Linked DNA regions of Homo sapiens: all the other regions are linked to region 1. Evidence: promoter capture Hi-C in 16 types of primary human blood cells and fetal thymus (Javierre and others, 2016). All regions are on one chromosome and are shown on one strand. Each heading gives the region's core, a stretch centred on a gene start or on the middle of the fragment in contact. The rest is flanking DNA. Distances are from core to core; before and after follow the strand shown. Region 1 holds the start of NUMA1-AS1 (NUMA1 antisense RNA 1). Region 2 overlaps CLPB (ClpB family mitochondrial disaggregase). Region 3 overlaps CLPB (ClpB family mitochondrial disaggregase). Region 4 overlaps CLPB (ClpB family mitochondrial disaggregase). Region 5 overlaps CLPB (ClpB family mitochondrial disaggregase). Region 6 has its middle 3.5 kb from the start of CLPB.

Evidence for each region. The method cuts DNA at HindIII sites, captures the fragments that hold promoters and counts their contacts. A CHiCAGO score of 5 or more calls a contact.
Region 2: a contact is called between a fragment that was not itself captured here and the fragment with the promoter of NUMA1-AS1 in region 1, in 1 of 17 cell types (erythroblasts). The highest score is 5.6, in erythroblasts.
Region 3: a fragment that was not itself captured here is called in contact with the fragment with the promoter of NUMA1-AS1 in region 1 in 1 of 17 cell types (erythroblasts); the score reaches 5.8 in erythroblasts.
Region 4: a fragment that was not itself captured here is called in contact with the fragment with the promoter of NUMA1-AS1 in region 1 in 1 of 17 cell types (erythroblasts); the score reaches 5.1 in erythroblasts.
Region 5: a contact is called between a fragment that was not itself captured here and the fragment with the promoter of NUMA1-AS1 in region 1, in 4 of 17 cell types (M1 macrophages, erythroblasts, megakaryocytes and 1 more). The highest score is 5.9, in M1 macrophages.
Region 6: a contact is called between a fragment that was not itself captured here and the fragment with the promoter of NUMA1-AS1 in region 1, in 4 of 17 cell types (endothelial precursors, M0 macrophages, erythroblasts and 1 more). The highest score is 11.3, in endothelial precursors.

Annotation. Positions count from the first base shown.
Region 1 is chr11:72,012,829-72,016,896 of GRCh38, forward strand. It overlaps NUMA1-AS1 (NUMA1 antisense RNA 1), which reads left to right and starts at 1,463. Exons shown (of 4, transcript NR_104178.2): 1 at 1,463-4,059. It overlaps NUMA1 (nuclear mitotic apparatus protein 1), which reads right to left. Exons shown (of 27, transcript NM_006185.4): 14 at 3,580-3,702; 15 at 67-3,432. RefSeq lists an enhancer at 2,117-2,864. The HindIII fragment of the contact is 6,447 bases long and covers 1-1,468 here.
Region 2 is chr11:72,362,663-72,366,981 of GRCh38, forward strand. All of the region lies in intron 4 of CLPB (ClpB family mitochondrial disaggregase), which reads right to left. It overlaps LOC112268077 (a long non-coding RNA gene), which reads left to right. Exons shown (of 3, transcript XR_007062768.1): 3 at 721-793. Among named protein-coding and RNA genes, the nearest start is that of CLPB, 70 kb to the right of the region's middle. The HindIII fragment of the contact is 4,492 bases long and covers 694-4,319 here.
Region 3 is chr11:72,309,338-72,313,436 of GRCh38, forward strand. The region is part of intron 7 of CLPB (ClpB family mitochondrial disaggregase); the gene reads right to left. Among named protein-coding and RNA genes, the nearest start is that of PHOX2A, 67 kb to the left of the region's middle. The HindIII fragment of the contact is 237 bases long and covers 1,142-1,378 here.
Region 4 is chr11:72,340,248-72,344,279 of GRCh38, forward strand. All of the region lies in intron 5 of CLPB (ClpB family mitochondrial disaggregase), which reads right to left. Among named protein-coding and RNA genes, the nearest start is that of CLPB, 92 kb to the right of the region's middle. The HindIII fragment of the contact is 1,619 bases long and covers 1,158-2,776 here.
Region 5 is chr11:72,394,244-72,398,047 of GRCh38, forward strand. The region is part of intron 3 of CLPB (ClpB family mitochondrial disaggregase); the gene reads right to left. Among named protein-coding and RNA genes, the nearest start is that of CLPB, 38 kb to the right of the region's middle. The HindIII fragment of the contact is 4,933 bases long and covers 1-3,804 here.
Region 6 is chr11:72,436,001-72,440,089 of GRCh38, forward strand. No RefSeq gene overlaps it. Among named protein-coding and RNA genes, the nearest start is that of CLPB, 3.5 kb to the left of the region's middle. RefSeq lists a silencer at 894-943. The HindIII fragment of the contact is 797 bases long and covers 1,839-2,635 here.

The sequences.
Region 1 (4,068 bases), core at 213-2,712:
GAGGATCGATGTCCCCGCGCTCTCAGCTCCTGATCTTTGGGAGGGTGGTTGGGCTGAGTACCTTACCTGGGCAGTGAGTTTCTGCCTCTCTTCCTGGAACCGCTGCCTCTCCTCCAGGACCTTGACCTTGGCACCCTCATACTTGGCAGTCATCACCTCCAGCTCCCGGGCAGTGCTCTGTGCTTCTCGCTGCACCTCAGCCAGACGGGTCTCAGCATCAGCACGTACGGCTGCCAACTCTTGGACATACTTCTCCCGGGCCTGGTCCAACTCCACTTCCAGAAACTGCCGGCCAAGGTTGGCCCGCTCACCCAGCCCCCGGTTCTCCTCTGCCAGCAGGCCATGCGCCTTCTTCAGCATGCTCAGCTGCTCTGCATAGCTGGCCTTCTCTGCCCGCAGCTGCTGAGCTGTTCGCTCCTGCTCTGCCACCTTCTGCCGCAGAGGAATCAGCTCCCCAAGCTCCCGCTGGGCCCGCAGCAGCTCTGCCCGCAGTCCCCCAGCGGCCTGCTTGCTCTGCTCCAGCTCCTCACGGTGGCGTTTCTCGGCAGCGGCCTGCTCGGCCTGCAGCTGCTGGCAGAGGTGCTTAGCTGGCAGCAGCTCACTCACCAGGGCCTGTGTGCTGGTGTGCTCGAGCTGCAGGGTGGAGAGGGCCTGCTCTTTCTGGAAGAACTTCTCCTGCCACGCCTTCAATTCTTGGCCCAGCTCCTCCGCACGCTCAGCCTGTGAGGTCAGCTCCTGCCGCAGGTTCTCTGAAGCCACCCGCTGTTTCTCAGCCTCCTCCCGGAGGCTCTGCACCTCCTCCCGCAGAGCAGAGCTGCGTTCTGCAGCTCTGGCACTGTTGCTGGCTGTCTCTGCCTGCAGCAGGCGCAGCCTCTCCTCCAGCTTCTGGCTCTTCTCTGACTCGGCCATCACCAGCCGCTTCAACTCCTTGCTCTCCCCCTCCTTCTCCAGGACCTGGCGATTCAGGATGGACACCTCCTCCTCCAAGCTGCTGATGAGGCTATTTTTCCTCTCAGCCTCTTGCCGGCCCCGGGCCACCTGGGCCTTCCACTCATCTTCAGCCTTGCTGTGGTCTTGTACCTTGGTGCGGAAGGCAGCCAACTCCCGTTGGGCCGAGGCTAAGGCACTCTGACTGTGCCCTAGCTCCTGGGCCTTCTCCTCTAACTGGCCCTGCAGAGTCTCCAGAGCACTGTCCCGCTCAGCCCGGGAGGCCCGCTCAGCCTCGAGGCTGCGTTCCAGGCTGTCAGCCTGCTCCTGCTGCTTCTGGCATTGCTGTTCCAGCTTGCTCACCTCTGCCCGCAGTGCCTCCAGCTTGGGGCCTGTTGGCTCTGTCCTGCCAGCAGCCTCAGATTGGGCTCCTGAGCCAGATGCGTGCTCCTTTTCTTTCTTAGCCAGCTGTTCCTTCAGTTGCTTCACGGTTTGCCGAAGTTCCTCCAGCTCTTTTATCTGGGCTGCCTCCAGACCACGAAGCTTGGCCAACTCCTGGTCCTTGCCTTCCTTTTCCGTCAGGGCATGAGCCAGTGCCTCTTGCAGGGTAGCGAACTCCACACGCTGCTCGTTGAGGGCGTTCTGCAGCCGCATCTCAAGCTCTGCTCTGGCCGCCTTCTCCAGGGCAAGGTCAGCCTGGGCACGGCCCCGCTCCTGGGTCAGCCGCGCCACCTCCCTTTCCTGCTGCCCACGCTCCTCCTGCTGCTGCCCCTGGCTCTCCATCAGCGCGGCCCGCAGCCGTTCCAGCTCATTGCCCATCTGCTCTGCCTCCCGCTCCATAGCCTGCAGCGCTGCCTGTGTGCTGCAGAACTGGCGTCCCTGTTGCTCTTCCAGCCACTCGGGCTGTCTGTCTCCTGCCCTCGCAGGCTCCTTGACTAACTCCCGGGAGGCTGTTTCCTGCTGCTCACCTGCCTTGCGCACCAAGGTCTCCAAGCGGGCCACCTCTTTGCTGGTGGCAGCCATCTTTTCCTGCAGAGTGGAGAGGTCATCTGCAAGCTTCTGGGCCCTGACTTCCTTCTCTTGGACCTGCTGGAGTGCTCTGGCCAGGTTGGCATGGAGCTCAGCTAGTTCGTTCTGCTGCCGGCTTATCTGGAGCTCGCTGTGGGATTCTATGCCTGCCACCTTCTCCTTTGCCTCCTGCAGCTCCTGGCGGGCCTTCTCACATTCCTCCTTCAAAGTCATCAGCTGTTCCTGGAACATGGCGCCATACTGTGCCTCCTCTTGCTGGCTATCCTCATACCGCTCACGCCAGGCAGCTACTTCTTTGACGAGCTGCTCACACTCACTCTCAGCTGTGTGCTGGGCAGCCATGGCCTCTGCCAGCTCCCGCCGCAGGACTTCAGTCTCAGCCTGATGGGCCTCCCCAAGCTGCTGTAATCGAGCCTCCAGCCCCTTGCGCCCAGCCCTCTCTTCTTCCAGCTCCTTTCGTTCCCGCTTATGCTGCTCCACCAGGCTTCGGGTCTCTGCCTTCAGCTCAGAGATACAACGCTGCTGCTCTTCCAGGGCATCTGCAGCCCTGCGCTTCTCCTCTTCAAGGCTGCCCTTGGTGACCTTCAAGGACTCTTTGAGGGCCTGGAGCTGCTCCTGGAGCTGGTCCTTCTCCTGGGCCACCCTTTCTTTCTCAGTTGCTTTTTGCTGCTCAGACCGCAGCTGCAACTCTAGCTCTGCAACCTGGGCCTGGGCCTCATGCTGTTCCTGGCGGGCTGTCTCAACACAGGCCTGGAGTTCCTCCACCTTCCGGCTCAGCTCTGCCTTCTCCCGCTGGGCCTGTGTCACTGAGGTCTGGGCACTGTCCCGGGCTTCATTAGCCACCTGAAGTTGCTGCTGCAGAATCTCCAGCTTGGCAGCCTTCTCCTTCTCCAGTGCCTCCAGCTGCTTGAGAGCCGCATCCCGCTCCCTTAAGGAGGCCTCTCGCTCCTCTGCAGCAGTGGCCAGTTGCTGGGCATGGTCCTGCCTAGTTGCCTCCTGCTTCTCCGCTACCTCCTTCAACTGCTGCTCCTTCTGCTTCAGGCTACTGCTTAGCTGCTCCACCTGGTGGCGGAGGCCCTGGGAGGCCTGTTCTTGCTGTTGGAGGGTCTGTGCTAGCTGGGCCTGCTTCTCTTTGGCCTGCTGCTTCAGGCCAGCCAGTTCTTGATCCTGTTGCTGGATGGTGGCATTGAGTGTGGTGAGCTCAGAGGTCAGAGAGGCCACCTGGGCAGTCAACCGGGCCCCATGAGCCTGGGAGGCCTGCTCCAGCTCTTCCTTGGCCTGGCTGAGGTTGGAGATGGAGCTCTGCAGGTCAGTGATCAGGCTAGACAGCTGCTGCTTTTCTTCTTCGAAGTGGCCCCGCTCAGCAAGCAGCTTGGCTTCCTGCTGGCCTCGCTCAGTCTCCAGCATCTCTACCCTGGCTTGGAGCTGTGTGTTGTTTGCAGCAAGAGTGGCTGCCTCTTGCTTCAAGGTTTCCAGCTGGTGGTATAAAGAGACAAACTGGGATCAGCATGACTCCTCAGTCATCAAGACTCCTCTGGAAATGGAGGAACACCAGGAACCCAAATGTACTGAATGTGAGTCCACACCAACCAGCAGCACACAGGTCTTTCTGTGCATTCCTACCTGCAAGACATCACCCAGCACCTCGCCCTTCTCCTGGGGTGGGTTATCCTGCAGCTGGGACAAGTGTTCTTCCAGCTGTGAAAGTTTTCCCTGAAGGATTTCGTTCTTCTCTTCAAGGCATTTCTGGGAGTAAATGAGACCCATGTGAACAGAGAGGGGGAACAGGCACCAGATTACCACACAAGCCCTCATAAACATCAGCAAACATGGGGCCCATCATCTTGTTACCAAGATCTCCTTTTGCCCTGGCCTAGAAAAAAGCAGAAACCATGGAACTGGGAGCATGAGGGACCTGATTCTCTAGACCTAGTTCTAAGGCACAATAAAGTCATAATGTAACCTGCTTACTACTTCCCCAAGGCTGCTGAGTTTACTTCAAATTTCCTTACCGTATACCCTTCCTCAGATAAGTCTTGAGTCCTAGATTATCCAAATCACCACCAGCTGCCCACCATCCTCTGGGCAGCAATACCACTGGCAGCAGCTGCA
Region 2 (4,319 bases), core at 1,690-4,189, 350 kb after region 1:
AACGCCTTCATGGGATGTTGTAAGGATTAAATGAGACACTATGAATAAAGGGGCTGGGTACAGTGCCTAGCATATAGTAGCTCTCAATAAATGTTAGTCATTATCTCATCATGGGCTTCCAAAAGTGTATTTTCTCTGTGAAAAAAGGCTTCACTTGAGGAATCCTGCATATACTTTCCTCTCAGAAAGGCACAGTGAGGTGGGCAAAGTGAGGTGGGGGCAGTGGCTCACGCCTGTAATCCCAGCACTTTAGGAGGCCGAGGCGGGCAGATCGCTTGAGCTCAGAAGTGTAAGACCAGCGTGGGCAACATGGCGAAACACCAACTCTACAAAAAATACAAAAATTAGCTGGGCGTGGTGGCGCATGCCTGTAGTCCCAGCTACTCGGGAGGCTGAGGTGGGAGGATCACTTGAGCCAGGAAGGCAGAGGTTGCAGTGAGCCGAGATCACGCCACTGCACTCCAGCCTGGGTGACAGAGCCAGACCCTGTCTCAAAAAAAAAAGAGAAAGTAAAAGAAGGAAGGAAGGGAAGGGAAGGGAGGGGAGGGGACGGAGGGAAGGAGGGAGGGCACAGTGAGCATAAGAATAGAGTTCTGAGTTAAGAGTCATCTGTTTCACTGGGTGTCACTCAGCAGTTTCTTGTTTGACAGCTGAACCCTCGTTAAAATCCTGCAGTGGTCTCTAGATAACAAAAGCTTTATTTACTGTTCACTTCTGCAGGTGAAGACAACCCTAGCTTTGAGTCCCTCTCGGCCTCTACTGGCCACTCCCAGAAGCCGGTGCCATCTAATGTTATGGAATGTCTAGCAGTGCCCTTGCCTTTAAAGATGTGAACATGTTTCCATGAGAGGGAACCTCTATGACTAATAAGACAAATAAAAGAATAACCCCTTATGTTTGTATCATGTTTTAAAGTGTAGGGAGCACTTCAAGGCAATCATTCCCTCATCCTCATGACAATCCATGTAGGACCGACAGTTCAAGTACTATCATCTCTATTGAACAGATGAGGAAACACAGGCTTAAAGAGGTTAGGTGGCCTGCTCAACTTGCAATGCTGGTCGGTGGTAGGCTAGGACTAGACCCTAAGCCTGAGTGGCTCCATGGCCTCTGCTCTATCTTCTGTACTGTGCAGCTTCTGCCAATGCCCACAGGCCCAAGCCTCATATAACTCAGGGTCGGTTGATACCAGCTGAAGCTCAGGGACTAAGCTAACTTCTTTCAAGAATCTCTAGGAAGAAGCCTCTGGCCTCTCAGCTTCCTCTCACTGAAGACTCTATACAAATTAAGACCCTGCTGAGGCATCACAGCACCAGTTAGAAGCAGAGCACTTGCCCCTTCTTGCCACTGCTCAGGAATGGCATCTACAATGTGTGTGTATGTGAGGGAGTTGTCTACAACCCACCAGAAAGGTCTCCGACTTTCCAACTTGGATGAGTTACTTCATCTCATCATTTTCATCTTTTCCACCACCATTCAAACTAAAAAAAGTGTAGAGAGCTTCAGCATGAAGTGTATTCCAATTACTTTTTATTTATTTATTTTTTTGAGATGGAGTCTCACTCTTGATGCCCAGGCTAGAGTGCAATGGCATGATCTCGGCTCACTGCAACCTCCGCAACACTGCAACCACTGCAACAATCCAAGTGATTCTCCTGCCTCAGCCTCCCGAGTAGCTGGGATTACATGCACGCGCCACCATGCCCAGCTAATTTTGTATTTTTAGTAGAGATGGGGTTTCACTATGTTAGCCAGGCTGGTCTTGAACTCCCGACCTCAGATGATCCACCTGCCTCAGCTTCCCAAAGTGCTGGGATTACAGGTGTGAGTCACTGCGCCCGGCCAAAAAATTTTTTTTTATTAAAAAAAAATATATAGAGAGAGATGGAGTCTACCTATGTTGCCTAGGCTGGTCTCAAACTCCTGGGCTCAAGTGGTCCTCCTGCCACAGCCTCCCAAAGTGCTAAGATTACAGGCATGAACCACTCACTGCACCCAGCCTTCAAACAAATTTTCCTTCCCACCTTTTTCCTTTCCTCCTCCCTTCCTGCCACATAGAGGACCCTGGTGACCCCAGTATGACTCCTCAGCAGGCAGCAACGTGTATTAGAAAGACCATGGGGGCTGGAGTCAGCAAGCCTGGAAAGCAAAACTGACTGTGTGACTTTATTAACATCTGTGAGATTCAGCTTCTTCATCTCCAAACAGATAATATCACCTATCTCACAAGAGTCAATGGCAAACCTAATTTAAAAAATGGACAAAGGACTGGAATAGACATTTCTCCAAATAAGACATACAAATGGCCAAAGAGCACATGAACAGATGCTCAATATCACTGGCTATCAGGAAAGTGCAAATCAAAACCACAATGAGGCTGGGGGTGGTGGCTCCTACCTGTAATCCCAGCACTCTGTGAGTGTGAAACAGGAGGATCATCTGAGGTTGGGAGTTCGAGACCAGCCTGGCTAACATAGTGAAACCCCGTCTCTACTAAAAAGTACAGAATTAACTAGGGGCTGTGGTGGCACATGCTTGTGGTCCTAGCAACTCAGGAGGCTGAGATGGAGGATCCCTTAAGCCCAGGAAGTCAATGCTATAGTGAGCCGTGATCACACCATTGCACTCCAGCCTGGAGGACAGAGCAAGACCCTGTCTCAAAAAATAAAATAAGATTCAATTTCTATTTAATGTCCAGATTAGGCAAATCTATGGAGACAGAAAGTAAATTAGTGGTTGCCAGGAGCTGGGAATAGTTGAAGAGAAATGGAGAGTGACTGATAATGAATACGAGGTCTCTTTATGGAGTGATAAAAATGTCCTAAAACTGATTGTCATAATAGTTTGCACAACTCTTGTGAATATACTATATAAACCATTGAGTTATATACTCTAAATGGTGAAGTGCATATAGAACCAAAAAGAGTCCAAACAGCCAAAGCAATCCTAAGCAAAAGAACAAAGCCAAAGGTATCAGACTACCTGACTTCAAACTATACTACAAGGCTATAGTGATCAAAACAGCATGGCACTGTACAAAAACAGACACATAGACCAATGGAACAGAATAGAGAACTCAGAAATAAAGCCACACACCTATACCCAACTGATCTTCAACAAGGTCAACAAATATAAGCAACGGGGAAAGGACTCCCTATTCAATAAATGGTGCTGGGATAACTGGCTATCCACATGCAGAAGAATGAAGCTGGACCTCTACCTCTCACCATATACAAAAATCAACTCAAGATGGATTAAAGATTTAAGTGTAAAACCTAAAACTATAAAAATCCTAGAAGAAAACCTAGGAAATACCCTTCAGGACATCAGCCTTGGCAAAGAATTTATTACTAGGTCCTCAAAAGCAACTATGACAAAAACAAAAATTGACAAATGGGGCCTAATTAAATGAAAGAGCTTCTGCACAGCAAAACAAACTATCAACAGAGTAAACAGACAACTTATAGAATGGGAGAAAATATTTTTGCAAACTATGCATCTGACACTGGTCTAATATCCAGAATCTATAAGGAACTTATGTGGGTCTTTTGTCTTGTTTTGTTTTGTTTTGAGATGGAGTCTCATTTTGTCACCCAGGCTGGAGTACAATGGTGTGACCTTGGCTCACTGCAACTTCCGCCTCCCAGGCTCAAGCGATTCCTCTGTGTCAGCCTCCCACATAGCTGGGATTACAGGTGTGCACCACCACACCCGGCTAATTTTTGTATTTTTAGAAAACCCTGTTTTCTAAAACAGGGTTTCACCATGTTGGCCAGGCTGGTCTTGAACTTCTGACCATGGGTGATCCACCTGCCTCAGCCTCCCAAAGTGCTGGGATTACAGGTATGAACCACCGCACCCAGCCAAGAATCTATAAGGAACTTAAACAACTCAACAAAGCAAAAAACAAATCCCATTTAAAAAATGGGCCAAAGACAAGGACATTTCTCAAAAGAAGACATACAAGCAACCAACAAACATATGAAAAAATGTTCAACATCATTAATCATCAGAGAAATGCAAATCAAACCCACAATGAGATACCATCTCGCACCAGTCAGAATGGCTCTTATTGGTGAGGCTGTAGAGAAAAGAGAATGCTTATACACTGTTGGAGGGAATGTAAATTAGTTCAGCCACTATGGAAAGCTGTTTGGAGATTTCTCAGAGAACTCAGAACTACCATTCAACCCAGAAATCTCATTACTGGGTATATATCCAAAAGAAAACAAATCGTTCTACCAAAAAGAAACAGGCACTCATATGTTCATCACAGCACTATTCACGATAGCAAAGACACAGAATCAATCTAGGTGCCC
Region 3 (4,099 bases), core at 10-2,509, 300 kb after region 1:
TAAGGGCTATGCATTCAATCTGAGAAAACTAAGTGCTTAATTATGGAGTAGGAGAATCAGGCTCAGAAACATTCTCAAGTATACGAGTGGGGGTGGAGTGAGGCAGAACTGCAAGAAGAATCATGCACTGAACATGCTGTATGCTAAGCACAATGGGAAAATTCACCAACAACGTATCTATTCAAGACCCACACAAATACCCGGAGAGGAAAGTAGTATTCTCAACTCCATTATACTGAACACGAAACTGAGGCAACAGATAGAGACTTGCCCAAGTCACACAACTAGTAGATGGCAGAGTTGCTTCTCTCTCTAAACCTGTCGTCTTTTTTTAAAAAAGTAACATATGGCTGCTCAAAAAAGTATGAATTTTGGTTGCACTAATGGAAACACGGCAGTCAGGAGCAGGAAAGAGAGTACTGTGTAATGTCAAGGTCAGTCTGCAAATGGAACAGCATGTCTGATCTGGTCCCCAGGGTGTCAGGGGAAAATTAGCTAAGGGATAGATGTCAGAGAACAAGGCCTGGAACACTAGTCAATGGGGAAAGATTTGACAGTGTTTGGGATGTGTCTGCCCATCTTGAGTTGCCAAGATCCTAACTACTATACTGTGTGGTTGGATTTCAAAGAAACGACTGCAGAGGTCTGGGAAGGTTCTCTGGAAGAGGCAGGACTGGTGATGGATCATGGAGGATGGGCAGGATTTGAAGAGGCAAAGGTGGCCAGCATGTCAGAGGTGGAGAGACAGGAATGATCATGAGGAGTGGTGGGGTGGGACCAGACTGTGAAGGTCTGGAATACTGTTTTAGGAGTTCAGCCTCAAGCCAGTGGTCTTTCTCATCTCGATCTCTAATGTTCCTGCCTAAAATACGACTTTCTCTCTACTTCTGGCCTCAGTAGAAACAGATGGAAGCTGTGCAAATTCATGGACATCAGACTAGCCACTTCTGCCTGCCCAGAAAATGCTCCCTGAGAATCCTGAAAGAGGCCTGAGAAAAAGCTCAGTATAACCTCTCTCCTGGGCAAGAATCCAGATTTTGTCTAAACTAACTGGCCCAGGATCTCTGGAAAGGCTGGCTATAAGGGGAACCCACAGACCTCATAGGTACCTGAATGCTGGGGATGAAGAGGGAAAAGTGCAAGCTTGGCTAAGCGGGGAGTCCCTGGTGTCCAACAGAAACAGGGAGCTGAGAGTGTGGGTATCTGAGGAAGTGAAGATATTGAAACGGCAAAGGCTAGACTTGTGAATACTGTGTGGACATGTGTGTACGTGTTAGGGCAGGGGTGACAGCAGTGACGTGAAAGGAGCCGTGTTCTTCTAAAAGTTGGCTAAATTAAGAGTCTAGGTTGGAAACAAGTTGAGCATGAACTGAGTTCAAGCTTCATGGGGTATTTGGGGAGGGAGATGTACCCAGACATCCCCCTACGTGGGTTCTGCAGGGTATCATGTACCTGGGGTTCTGATCCTGCCTTTTCTTTTAAGGTAGCATCCCAGCCCACAGAGAGCTGCACACTGCTGGGCTGTGCAGTACAAAAACACCATGGAGAATGAGGAATTGAATTATGCCTGGGGCCACTGTTCCCCGCTTCTTTTCTAAGAATGCACCTGGGAGAGAGCTCTTTATAATGCCAGGCAGACTTCACTGCACAGCTGTCCCTGGTCAATTCTGCCCGACCTAGGGCATGAGTCCGGGGTGGGCTTGATGTGGGTCCCCTGTGAAACAGGTGAAATGCCAACCATTAAGCAATTCCAACTCTGGATATTTCTAATAATATCTGAAGAGAAAAACAGCCAAGCAGATGGAGTCTGACAGAATGAAAAATGGTGGCAGCTAGGAAGGACTGGAGAAGGCGGGCCCTAGTGTTTGTGGTTGGCAGGGTGGCCGAGGACCAAGGCTATGGGCCTTGAGGATCCCGTCAGGCCAGAGTAGAGGCTGGGACAGAGACCTGCATGGGCCCACGTGGGAGGTGGCCATAGTTGTTGTTGCTCTCACTGTGGCCAGCAAATGTATTTACAACTGACTCACTTCAACATTTCATTGTTGTCTATAAAGAACTTCTGTAGACATAATTTCATTTCAGCCTTGTGAGGTAAGCAGAACAGGGGACTTGATTTCCATTTTATAGGTGAGGAAACATGCACGCAGAAGTTAGGTGACCTGCTTAAGGTTACAGGGGGAAGAAACAAAGACCCTGGGCTTTACCCTCAGTTCTGGCTTAGCCTGAGCCTGCGCTGTACTATGGGAGCTTAGAGGAAGGTCAGCTCTCCTCCTCTGACTCTCCGCTGCCACAGCACCTCCTCACACCCTGACTCCTTGGAAAACGTTCTCTGTAGTCTTCCAATCTGGCCTGCTCAGCCATTCAGCACATGGCCTCAGGAGCCCCTGTCCCCTAACCCTGTCTTGGTCACTGCTCTTGGGCTAGAGATGGTGTCAGGGCCCTCTGCACAGGCAGCCTGGCTCCCTTCTCTGGCCAGTCCCATCGCCACAAGCTCCAGGCAGGCTGCTCTGCCTCCCAGCAGGTAGTGCCGGGTGCCCACCTGGCTTGTGTTCTGCTTTCTCCTGGCCATGCTTGTCACTACTGGACCATCTGAAAACTCACCTGCAACAGCTCTTTTTGATTCACTCCACCACACCACATCTAGCCATTAACTTGCAGGTCTGTATTCTCTGGCATGCATTCATCTACCGGGTGGTATAGTGGAGAGGGCAGGAGTTACAGGATCTAGCATGGAGTCCCGCCTCTGTCACTTACCAGCTGACTGACTTTAAATAAAACACTTATTCCTTTAGAGCCTCCGTTTCTTCCTCTATAAAATGGGAACAGTCACATATACTGTGTCAGCCCCACATGCAGATTAAACAAGTTAATGGTGATGAAAGCAATTTGTAAGTGGCGAGGAGTGGGATAACAATAAGAGTAAAAATAATGGTAGTCATAGCAGCAGCAATGGTAGTTACCATTAGCTTTGGTATTTTACAGTAACTCTTTCATCCTCCTAATAATCCTGATAAGTAGGTGTTATCTCCATTTTACACAGGATACCGAGGCTCAGAGACGGGCAGTGTAAGGTGTTTCATCTACCTGTGCCCTTGTGTCTGGCAGGGAGGGTGTGCCCCCAATCTGACCATATTCCATGGGAGCAGGTGCTGGGTGTCCTGGGTGCCCTATTTTCTGAGGACCCCTGAGACTAGCCCAACACTGGTTTAATACTTGCTGACTAAATGAATTATTGGTCTTTCTCAAATTGCAAGGGAGAAAGAACAGGTACTTCAACTCATTTTACAGAGAAGAGGAGAAGAGTAAGGCCTAGACTTGAGTCTCTTAGTGCCCCAGGTAGTTACTACCACTCTTGCATGAAGAAGGCTTCCACTTTCTTCTAAATCCTTCTCCAGGAAGCCTTATGTATTTGTTTAGCAAAAAAGCTCTGTGCTAGGTGCGGCGGCTCTCACAAAGAGGCCTCAAAAAAGGTGCGTGCCATAGAGGTAAAGGCTGCTATGAAAACTGTGGGCTCCAAACGGGATGGGTGCACAGAGGGAAGTATGGGAAGAGCCATTTGTGCTGGCCTGACATTTGTGCTTGAAGGGTGAGAGGGAGATTGCCAGCCACTTGCAGGTATGATGGGACATTCCAGGAAGAAGGCCCCAGTGTGTGTACAACCAAAAAGGCAAGAGCGGCCTCCTCCTTCCACCCCAGGCCTTTGTTTCTGTCCAGCTCAAGGTTCTAGGGCAGTCTGGGTGGGCTGACTTACCTTTCTTGATAGGTGCCAGGGATATAGTGTGGGAGGTTTTTTATAACCTAATCTGGAACATGTTTGTCACATGTCTGTGGCATCTCCTAGTGGGAACCAGTCCTTCAGAGGGACTCTCATGGTTGAGAGTCATACAAATGTTTATCAGCAATTGCCTGACAACTGCTTGTAGGTTCAAGGAACATGGTAAGTACTCGACAGGTGCCTACTGAGTGGATACTGATGCCTTGGGTTTGGTGGATCATGAAAGAGCTCTCTTCTTAGTCCTTAGTAAGGATTATTCTTTCTGCAGGCAAACTATTGCTGCCAAGTGGTTAACAACTTAAAAATGCAAGTAGTAGCTTCTTA
Region 4 (4,032 bases), core at 717-3,216, 330 kb after region 1:
GTTTGGGGCAGCAGAGATAGGCGCTGGCTGCCTTTGGATGGAGGAGGTCGATACACCAGTCCACGACATATTGAGCCACAATGCCTGCAGACTCTATTGCTCTATTTAATCATCTTTTGCAAAATTTACAGTGGAACAGGAGGGATCGATACGGAATTTATCACATTCTCTTGTAAATATGAGCCAGGAAAGAGTTCCAGGCAGTTTGTTACTGAGTGGGAGGGAACATGTCTGTGTACAGCTGGGCATTAGGAGATGAGACAAAATCCATACTTCTTGGCATAAGCTACAGACATTCAGCCAGTCCCTCTTACGCCTGAAGGCAAGTTCAATGGGTAGAATGCTGATTCATTCATTCATTCAACCAAGCAACCAACCAACATTCTAGATTACCTATTTTATGCCAGACCCTACAGAGGACAGGGTGGACCCTAGAGAGCTCTGGGAACATACACTGGAATTCTGCTTATGAGATCCTAATCATAGCTATAATAACACAATGGCTCTGCCACTTAGTGGTGAACCTTGGTTGTTACTGAACTGCTTGGTGCCCTTGTTTATGCATATGGAAATGTAGATAATAAGAGTCCCTAACTTGCAGAGTTATTATTATTATTTTTTGAGCTGGAGTCTCGCTCTGTCGTCCACGCTGGAGTGCAGTGGCACGATCTCGGCTCACTGCAAGCTCCATCTCCTGGGTTCACGCCATTCTCCTGCCTCAGCCTGGCACCACGCCCGGCTAATTTTTTGTATCTTTAGTAGAGATGGGGTTTCACTGTGTTAGCCAGGATGGTCATCTCCTGACCTCGTGATCCGCCCACCTCTGCTTCCCAAAGTGCTGGGATTACAGGCGTGAGCCACCGCGCCTGGCAAGTTATTTTAAGTATTAAAAGAGAGAAAAGCCTTAGTCCAGAGCTTTTATCAAAAAATGGTAACTGTTGTTATTTTTCCTTCAATTACTATTACTAACCATTCCTTCCTACAGTGGATAGGGTGTTGAACAGGGAGCCGGCTACCCTACCTCCTTAATAGACAGAAGGGAGACTGGATGGCCTTCCCAGGTTAGAGATCTGGTCAGGGCCACCAGCAGCAGAATCAGAGGAGCAAGAGGAAGAGGGTGTGTAAGGAGGAGATTCATGTTAAGCTCTGTTTTTTGAAGCTTCAATTGCAATCTTTAAAACAATAAAATAGTCTCCTAAAATTGCTGTGGGGGAACAGAGTGAGAAGTGATTCACTTCATGTAGGCCAACCATGGAAAGTTATACATTAAAGATATAAATGAGTTGGATCTTGAAGGCTAAGTAGGAGTTTGATAGGTGGAGAAGTGGGGAAAGGATATTCCAGGCAAAGTGAATGAGGACAGGTTTGGAGGCAGGAAAAACTATGCTAGGTAGTGAACAGTTCAGTGGGCCATAGGCAGAGACAGTTCCTGTCTCCCAGGCCTACTTGGCTGCAGGCATCCTCCTGGTAGGCCCACAGGATGATCCCAATCCTGAAGCAAACCATCATCCTCATCCTCTCTTGGAAACTGGTGGCAGAAGTCACTTTAGAGTGACTGCATGCTGGGTTAAACATCTGGGCTTAATTTATAGGCAGTGGGAACTGCTGAAGGTTTTAAAGCAGGAAAGTGACATGGTTTTGTGAGATGGAGGCTGGTTTGATGGGATCCTAGAGGTAGGAAGAACAAGGCTGTTATAATAGTCCAGGTGAGAGTGATGAAGCCTGAATTAGAGAAGTGGGGACAGAGGAGAGAATGGGCTTAAGATGAAATTCTAAGAAAGACAGGGCTTGGTGGAAAGTGAGGGAGAAGTCATCAGACATAACACTTCCTAGTTTGAGCGACCAGTAGACAACCATACTATTCATCAAAGAGAACATGGAAGAAAGTGTGAGGAGGTATGGATTTGGACGCATTGAGGATGAGAGATGTCTACGGAATATTAAGCATCAACAAAGCTATGGAAGACATGAAAATGCCTGGTTTGTTCTACGGAAAATAGGTAGATCAGTGTGGTTAGAAAGAGGTGGTATAAAAACCATGGAAATGAATATTCAAACATAACAGAGTTAGACAAGGAAAACAGCAAAAGCAAAAACTCCTGCCAAGGATCTCTGGTCAATGCAAAGCTAACGTAGAGGTTTTCTAACGGTGGATAATGCTCTGAATAGCATGTGACACAGGCAAAGAAGTGAGGATCCTTAGCTCATTTTCATTTTGGACAAGTCCCAAAATGAAAATGTTCACGACTTTCCTGGAAGTCGTGGGCTTTCAAGAGGCCAGCCCTACTCCTCCTTATCCCCACAGTATAGCACAGACTCTCCTCAGAGGTGGCAGCAGGTTCTATGGCCAGAGAGCAGCTAGGAGCAACTGTCAGTGGGGAGGGAAAGGCTCTGGATAAAGCAGAGTTCAAAGTGCACTATCAGAGCCAGGGTCCTCAGGCCTCTGCAGTCTTCCCTCCTGCAAATGACAGCTGAGACCAAAGCATCCGAGCCTGGGGTCTGGGCTGAATTTAGCAGTCATAATTACACTGTTAACGTCTGGGGCACAGCCACAGTCTCCGTAGAAGGCGGCAGCTTTTGTTCATGCACTAAAAACACATCATCTTCAAACATGCTAATCCTACGTCTGCTTCCATCTAACAACATTGAAAGGAGGCTGAGGAAAGGGCACACAATGCCCACACATCTGGCTAATTCAGTTATGAGGCCAATCAATCTTGATGGGTTGTCTACGAGACCCCAACCACCCCAAAGGACTGAGCTGACCAGATGTTTAAGCTTCTGTTGACCAATCCTAGCCTAATGTGCAGGGCAGAGAAGAGGGGTTATCAAGAGATGACTTTTGCTTCCACTTACACATCTATTCCCAAAGCCAAGTAGAGCCCTCTGCTTGGATGAAAAGTATCAGCACATTAAAGTAGTGGTTGAGCCAAGCTCACTGGAATGAGGTACACTCAAATATACAGACTTTCAGTCTGAACTCAAGGAAGATAGGAAGCCTTATTTATGGCTGCCTTTGTGAACACTCACAGCAACAGAAACCAATGAAATATTTTTTGCTAATTGCACTTCCCTATATGGAGAGAATCGGAAATGTGGGGGTGGGGGAGGTAGTATCTTCAACTATAATATCAAATGTTATAGGCTACGGTTCTGGGAACAGGAACTGTTTTATCTGCTGATACCTGCTTTCATTCAAGGCTGAAGGAATTACTCATCTCCCTCATAAAACATTTGCTTTTTAAAAAAACCAGAAGCTTCTGCCAACAAGGACTCTTCCAGTTTATGCACCTTCTTTTATGCCCAACCACAGTCACCAGGCAACCATCACCAAAAATAAAAGTGGAAAGGTGGTGGGAGGCTAGGAGGAAGGGGAGAGGACAGGGATAGACTACAAACACCAGGAGGACCACTTTGACCCAGAGCTCCTTGCTGTTGCTAGTGATTCCATTTTTTTCAAGATGCTTTTCCCTCATTAATTCTGAGGATTTCACCAAGTTTGTCCCAGAATTGAGGATGCATGACAAAACAGATGAATGGTCCTGGGTAAAAGAAACTTCCAACTTATTAGAAAGTAGTGAGAGAGAAGCAAAGATTAAAAATGAGATCTTTATTGTGATACCCTGTGCCCAGAACAGTAATTGGCACTCAGTAGGAGTTTAAAAAATACCTGCTGACTGAATAATTATGGCCCCATTATGACACAGCTGAGCTGTGCTCCTTCCATTTCTGTTTGTCAGGAGAGGCCTCCTATGGTCATGGGCAATACTGCTCGACAAAACCACTGCCCACAGATCAGGAGAGTCTTCCTTCAGCCTGAATAAGCACAGATGAAGTTGTGCTGAGAGGTAGGGCTATGAATGTCATTACCACATCCAGCAACCTCTTTTTCCTCCTCTCCATGGGTGCAGTAATCTATACTGCTGACCAATCTTGCCTCCTTTTAATTCTTTTCTACCTTAAAAAAACATATTTTTTTGAGGCAGGGTCTCACTTTGTCACCCAGGCTGGAGTGCAGTGGCGCAATCTCAG
Region 5 (3,804 bases), core at 902-3,401, 380 kb after region 1:
CAGCTGTTTTTAAAGAAGTCTCTTAAAGAAGAGGTATAGAACTAGACCATCTCACAGTTCCTAGAGATGGAACACCCTGCCCCAAGCAGCTGAACTGAATGAACACTGGATGCTTTCCTATCCCCAACTGCCACTCTCCATAATGAACACTGGATGCTCTCCTATCCCCAACTGCCACTCTCCATAATGAACACTGGATGCTCTCCTATCCCCAACTGCCACTCTCCATGAAGACAGCACTGAACACAGAACCCCAGGACAGAACAGAGCATTGGGCCCAGGAAGTATACCCTGAGACTGTCACGTTAGGCAAATGAGCTGGCACTGATTTCCAGGGAGCAGCGTCTTGAGTTGCCTGAGGTTGAGGCATGTGTCTGCCAAACTACGAGTGCATGCTGGAATTGGAATATCATTACCACAAAACAGGATTATCTTGAGCAACGATTCCAAATGGGATTAGAAATGACTCTTTCTTACTCAGAGATAATCGGCCATAGCAGTAGGGGTGGGAGAAACGTCAAGCCCAACACTTTCCTGGGGGCACGGTGCTGCGGTGCTGGCATTCTGGGCACTTGGCCAGCACCCTCACCCATCCTTCCTTGCTGGGGAATACTGGGTACTGTCCTGCACTGGGCAGGTGGCCACCTGTAACAAAAGCCAGCCTATATCAAGGTACCCTGCTCAGGGGTCCCATGTTCTTGGGTTCCCTGCCGGTTGCTTCTACGAGCACATCTCTGCTTTCCACCTTTGTGAGCCTATGCTCACAATGGTCCTTCTGCAAATGCTCTCCCCCTACTCCCTATGTTACCAATCAAATCCTGCCCAACTCCTCTGAAAGGGCCTCTTTTCATGATGCTGGCTCTACACAGCATCATCTCCTCCACAGCACTCTATGTGTTCTTCTCTGTGGCACTGAACACATTCTGCCTCATTCTCCAAAGCGGGACTTTTATCCCTTTTCTGAGTGTCAGCTTTCTGAGAACAAGGAGAGTGGCTTGTCTGTTTTTACAGTTCTCAAAATCCATATAATACATCATGGGTCATCAAGAAACCCTGATAGAGCCGACTTGACTCCTGGTTCCAGCATCCTTCGGTCCATCCCATGGCCTTGCTCCCGGCCCCTTCCCTCCATAGGCAGTGTAGTCCAGTGGAAAGAGCAAGGGTTTGGGGTTCAGAAAGACCCAGCTTCAAATCCTGGCTCCTTCTTTTACTAGCTGGACAACCTTGGACAACTCTGAGCTTCATTTTCCCTATCTGTAAAATAGGAATAATAATCCCTTCCTTTCAAGATTGCCCTGAGGATTAGACCCAACATGGGAAGTGCTTGACATGGGCCTGGCACACAGAAAGCACCCAATCAACTACTGCCATCATCATTACTACAGTCAGGAGATCACACAGCACAAAGCCCAGCCTCCTTGGGCAGAAGGTAGCCCTACTCTACAGCACGAAGCCAGACCAAGAATAGGTTAGAAGACGGAAAAGGCTCTGTGCCCCTAAGGCAGGACCGACTTCCATGTGGTTGGTCAGGTTCCCTAAGGACCTACTTTCAAGCACAGGTACACTGGTACTCTACCTGCTCCACGTATAGCTAGCCAGGAAGGAAGCAGAGCCTCCCAGGGAGGCTGCCAGTAGTCTAGCTGCAAGATTAGCATCTGCTCTTCGCTCTAAGAACACCCATGGAGCTGTTGGGGTCCACAAAGGAAGGCCTTTAAAACCTCTTCTGTAGGACAGCAATCTGGCTTAGGCTATCGGTTTTTTAAAGAAAGGGTTTAATGCACCCTCTCCCCTTAGTAAGGCAGAGGGAAAATAAGCAAATGCTAAAAATAAATGACTGCTGTGAGAGGGAATTGAATGGTCTTCAGCCAAGGATGGCAGCACTTTAAAATTAACAAAGCCCGGGTACCACATCCAGGAAGGCCTTGGCAAATGCGTGTTATCCACTCATTAGCTCAGTTCCTCGGGGACCCTGGCCAAGCAGGGAAGGCAGTGCCGGGAACCAGTCCTTCCGACACTGATGAAATGCACTCGGGGAGAAAAGGCAGAAGGAGGGAGGGAGACTCTTGTGGGGAATTTCAAACAGTTCTGATGTGCTTCATGCTCTGCCTTGCAGTTCTCACCTTCTCCGAGGCAAAGGCTTGCAAAAGCCACCACCAAGCCCAAGCAGGATGAAATCAAAATCTCCCCACACCAGCCTCCCTTTTCAGGATCTTTGGTTCCTGAAGCACCACAACGGCCTCACTATATAGGTGGTGTCCCTGCATGAGAGTCCAGAGATAAGGAACCCAAGAATAGTGTGGGAGAGGCAAGCTCCCAGTCTGTAACCTCAACTTTCTCCTTGCTGGAATGAAGAATCATATACTTTATGAATTTATACAAGTCCACTGTACACTACTCATAAAGTGAATTTATCACTATTCATCAGTAATTATACTTCATTACATCACTGATAGTATGAATTGACAAATCTTCATTCCCTACTAAAAATCAGAATGCATATCACTCTAATGTGAGATATCATCAACAATAAGAATTCAAAACATTCCAGGTGACCATTAACAATATGAATTAATTTTGATACTACTAATACAAATTCTCAGTATGCCACTGGTCACAATTAATAATGAAAATTAGAGAGGGATGACAGCTTTTTAAAAAGTGTTTAAAGTCAGTTTACTGAAGTATCACATTTACACAGAGTAAAATTCATCCTTTTTAAGATATATAATTTAATGAATTTTGATAATTATATACATTCATGTAACCAGCATGATAATCAGGATACAGAATATTTCTCCATCATCCCAAAAAGTTCCTTTATATTCTCTTCCCATTCCCAAACACTGGCAACCACCAATCTGATTTCTGCCCCTAAAGTTCTGTCTTCTCCAGAATGTCATATACATGGAATTACAGAGCAGGTAGCTTTTTGTGTTGGTTTTAGCTTAGCATGGTGCTTTTGTTGTTGTCATTGTTTGTTTGGCTGTTTTTACCGTATGGATATACCACAATTTGTTGGTCCATTCACCAGTTGATGGACATTGCATTATATCCAGTTTTTGGTGGTCATGAATAAAGCTGCTATAAATATTTACATACAGGTATTTTTGCAGACGTACATTTTTATTTCTCTTAGACAAATACCTAGGAGTTGCTATTGCTCTGTGGTATGGTAAATGTATACTTTACCTTTATAAGAAACTGCCAAAGTGTTTTCCAATGTGGCTATACCATTATGCATTCCTATCAGTGATGTATCAATATTGTTCTGTATCCTTGTCAGCCCTTAGTATTGTCAGTTTTCCTAAATTTTAGCTACTGTAGCAGGTATGTAGTGGTATCTCATTGTGACTTGAATTTGCACTGAGTATGTTTTCATGTGCTTATTTGCCACCCATCTCTTTTTCGATGAAGCATCTGCTAAAATATTTTGCCCATTTAAAAAAATTAGATTTTTTTTATTATTGATTTGTAAGACTTCTTTATATGTTCTGGGTACTACTGCTTTATAAGATACATGTTTTTACAGCTCCTTTTTTATGAATTAGAAATTATAAGAATCTAAGTCTTACAATTTTTCTTCTAAACCACTATCCTCTGCACATATACTCTAATTAAGGGACTAGGAACAACTTAAACTTCTAATTTACAAACATCTTAGTGCTGCTGGAACAGAGGGCCAAGAAGTACTTAAACCGTGCTAAAACTCATGAGACTATTTTTATCTCCATTGCAAGCACCTAACAATACCAGAGCTTTAAGGAAAGCTACATCTGGAGAAATGACTGTCCTATGAACAGCTTT
Region 6 (4,089 bases), core at 987-3,486, 420 kb after region 1:
TATCACCATCTGACATACTACATTTTTATTGTCTTTCTCCACTACAGCATGAGCCCCATGAGACAAGGACTTTGTTTTTTCACTTTTATATCACTAGCACTCAGAACAATGTCTGGAACAAAAGAGGCACTCAGTTTTTTTATTTTTATGTATTTATTTATTTATTGAAGCAGAGTCTTGCTCTGTCGCCCAGGCTGCAGTGCAGTGGCACGATCTCAGCTCACTGCAAGCTCAGCCTCCTGTGTTCACGCCATTCTTCTGCCTCAGCCTCCCGAGTAGCTGGGACTACAGGCTCCCGCCACCATGCTCGGCTAATTTTTTTGTATTTTTAGTAGAGACGGGGTTTCACTGTATTAGTCAGGATGGTCTCGATCTCCTGACCTCGTGATCCACCTGCCTCGGCCTCCTAAAGTGCTGGGATTACAGGTGTGAGCCACCGCGCCCGGCCTGAGGCACTCAAATATTTTTTTCAGTGAATGGATTACTCTCACCTTATTAGTGTTGGAGAGTACTTGAGCTTTGGCATTCAGGCAGACGTGGATTTTAATTTTGACTCTTGCATTTATATGGGTGACCTTGGACAAACTCCCTTTACCTCTCTGGTAGTTAATTACTCATTGTTGAAGATATCAATTCCTGCCTTCAAGATGATTGCTTGTATTAAATAAGATAATATGTAGAAAGCCCCTAACACTGTCCCTGGCTCACAGTAGGTCTTCAAGAAATGGTAGCTATCATTGTATATTCTCTGCTCTGTGTATTCTACACTTCCTCCAGGCAAAGATGGAACTTCTCATTTCCACATCCGTTAGTAAGACAGGAATGAATGAGCGACTTTTTTGGTTTTTTTTGAGACAGGGTCACGCTCTGTTACACAGGCTGGAGTACAGTTGTTACTGCAACCTGAAACCTCCTGGGCTCAAGGGATCATCCCACCACCTCAGCCTCCTGAGTAGCTGGGACCACAGCTGGCACCACTACACCTAGCTAATTTTTTGTTATTATTATTATTATTATTATTTGGGTAGAGACTAGGTCTCGCTATGATGCCCAAGCTGGTCTGAACTCCTGGGCTCAAGCAGTCCTCCTGCCTCAGCCTCCTAAAGTGCTGGGATTACAGGCGTGAGCCACTGCGCCTGGCTTTAATAACTTTTTTTTTTTTTTGAGATGGAGTTTTGCTCTTGTTGCCCAGGCTGGAGTGCAATGGCGCGATCTTGACTCACCGCAACCTCCGCCTCCCAGGTTCAAGCGCTTTTCTTGCCTCAGCCTCCCGAGTAGCTAGGATTACAGGCATGTGTCACCACACCTGGCTAATTTTTTTTGTATTTTTAGTAGAGACGGGGTTTTACATGTTGGTCAGGCTGGTCTCAAACTCCCAACCTCAGATGATCCACCTGCCTTGGCCTCCCAGAGTGCTGGGATTACAGGCGTGAGCCACCGTGCCCAGCCTTGAATAACTATTTTTAAATCATTTTTAAAGCACTCAATAATGAAAGCATTTTGACCTTTCTGTTTTGAGAGATTTTCAGCACATATTATTTTGTTAACCACCCCATTCACTATAGCAACTTCACCTTCCCTGTATTCTTGAAACATTTCTGTCTCCCAACTTAGGGTGGTCACAGCAGGAAGAGCAGTCTCCGAAAGCTCCCATTACCAGATGCAGAGTTCAAACCCTCTCACTGCAGACACATCCCAGGGCCCTTCAGTTTACTTAGCAATGCATAATTTTCAAAGCACTTCCCCATTGATTTTCTTATTTTATTTTCACAGATACCATCTGCGAGGGGTTCAAGGAAGGGTTTAATTACTATCAGTATTTGGTAGGGATACTGAAAAGCTTAAATTATCAATCTCTGAGTGGGGGATGTAGTGAGGAAGTATGGAAACACCCATTAGGGTCGTGTGTGCTTGCTCACGTGCCTGTAATCCCAACACTTGGGGCAGGAGTTTGAGACCAGCCTGGGCAACATGGTGAGATCACAGTCTCTGCAAAAAATAAAAAATTAGCCAGGCATGGGGGTGTACACCTGTAGTTCTAGCTACTCAGGAGGCTGTGGCAGGAGGATCCCCACACTACTGCACTTCAGTCTAGGCAACAGAGTGAGACCCTGTCTCCAAAAAAAAGAAAAATAAACTAAAATTAAAACAAACAAAAAAACCCCACCCATTAGAATCAGCTGGGACTCAGAGTGAATTCTGTATGGTCAATAACCAATCCAGGGCCAGGCACAGTGGCTAATGCCTATAATCCCAGCACTTTGGGAGGCCGAGTTGGAAGGATCATTTGAGGTCAGGAGTTCGAGACCAGCCTGGCTAACATGGTGAAACCCCGTCTCTACTAAAGATCCAAAAAATTAGCTGGGCGTGGTGGCACACGCCTGTAATCCCAGCTACTCAGGAGGCTGAGGCAGGAGAATTACTTGAACCCAGGAGGCGGAGGTTGCAGTGAGCCAAGATCGCGCCATTGCACTCCAGCCTGGGCGACGGGGCGACTCCGTCTCAAAAAACAAACAAACACACAAAAAACTCTTAGGTCACATTTTAACAGATTTTCAACGCAGGATGGCTTCCTTTTGGTCTGCTCAGAAAGCAAAAATTTATATCAGGTTCCAATGACCCCACCTTGGCCCTAAGCTTCTAACTGTTGGGTTGGGAGAGAGAGAACTCCAGTTTTAGTTTGTAGGAAGGTGACTGGGGGATATCTGAATGGGGTTTAGGAGGAGACAGAAAGTGAAGAATCAATGCAGTTGCTGTGGTCAGCTGCCTCTGGCATGGAGTTGGAGGCCATTTGGTGCTACACATTCTATAGGTTTCTGAGAAAAACTTTTCCAGAAAAAGAAAACAAAACAACAACACACACACACATTTTTAAACAAATAAGTAAATAGATAGTAGCTGGGCTTTTCACTGTTGGAGAAAGAAGTTATAAATAGGGAAAAAAAGAAAGCTAAAATGAACCTTGTGGTATTGAATTGGAATCAGATGTATCAGCATAAACTCATGGCTTTAATTTTATTTTTACTTTATTTATTTTTGAGACGGAGTCTTGCTCTGTCATCCAGGCTGGAATGCAGTGGCGCGATCTTGGTCACTGCAGCCTCCGTCTCCCAGGTTCAAGTGATTCTCCTGCCTCAGCCTCCTGAGTAGCTGGGATTACAGCAATGTACCACCGCCCAGCTAACTTTTGTATTTTTAGTAGAGACAGGGTTTCGCCATGTTGGCCAGACTGGTCTCGAACCAGCCTGATTGGTCTCAATTGGTTATTGACCATATGGTTTTGCCACGTTGGCCAGGCTGGTCACAAACTCCTGACCTCAAATGATCTGCCTGTCTCAGCCTCCCAAAGTGCTAGGATTACAGGTTAGAGCCACCATGCCCAGCTGTAAAACTCATGGTTTTTAAAAATAGATACAGACAGATCAATACAGAAATATAAATATGTAAGTATGTATGGGTTCGTGTATTACATATATTACCTAGCCTCTGGGAGGGTCTAGAAGCAATTACACCCTAAAAATTGAACACACCTAACACCCAGACATAAACAGCATTCTCCAATAACCCAGAAACCAGTTACCCTTGGAGAATGGTTGTTTTCAGGACTGGGCAGAGAAAATCCAAAATGAGTCAACAACATCGTATGTGCCAGGAAGTTAGGAAAGGCTCAAAACCAGATGCAGGCTTGTGAAAAGAACACAGGAGCCAGTGTGAAGGAGTTCATAATGACCTAAGTAGGAACAATTTAACTGAAAAGTAATGACCATATGGGGTTTTGATCCACAGAGTAAAACAAATATGATATAAATAATCAAATAAATAAATAGATAAATAGGGGAGGAATGAGGGAAGAGGCAGCTTTCTTTCTTTCTTTTTTTTTGAGACGGAGTCTCGCTCTGTTGCCCAGGCTGGAGTGCAGTGGCGCGATCTCGGCTCACTGAAAGCTCTGCCTCCCGGGTTCACACCATTCTCCTGCCTCAGCCTCCAGCTGGGACTACAGGCGCCCGCCACCATGCCCGGCTAATTTTTTTTTTTGTTGTATTTTTAGTAGAGACGGGGTTTCACTGTGTTAGCCAGGATGGTCTCGAT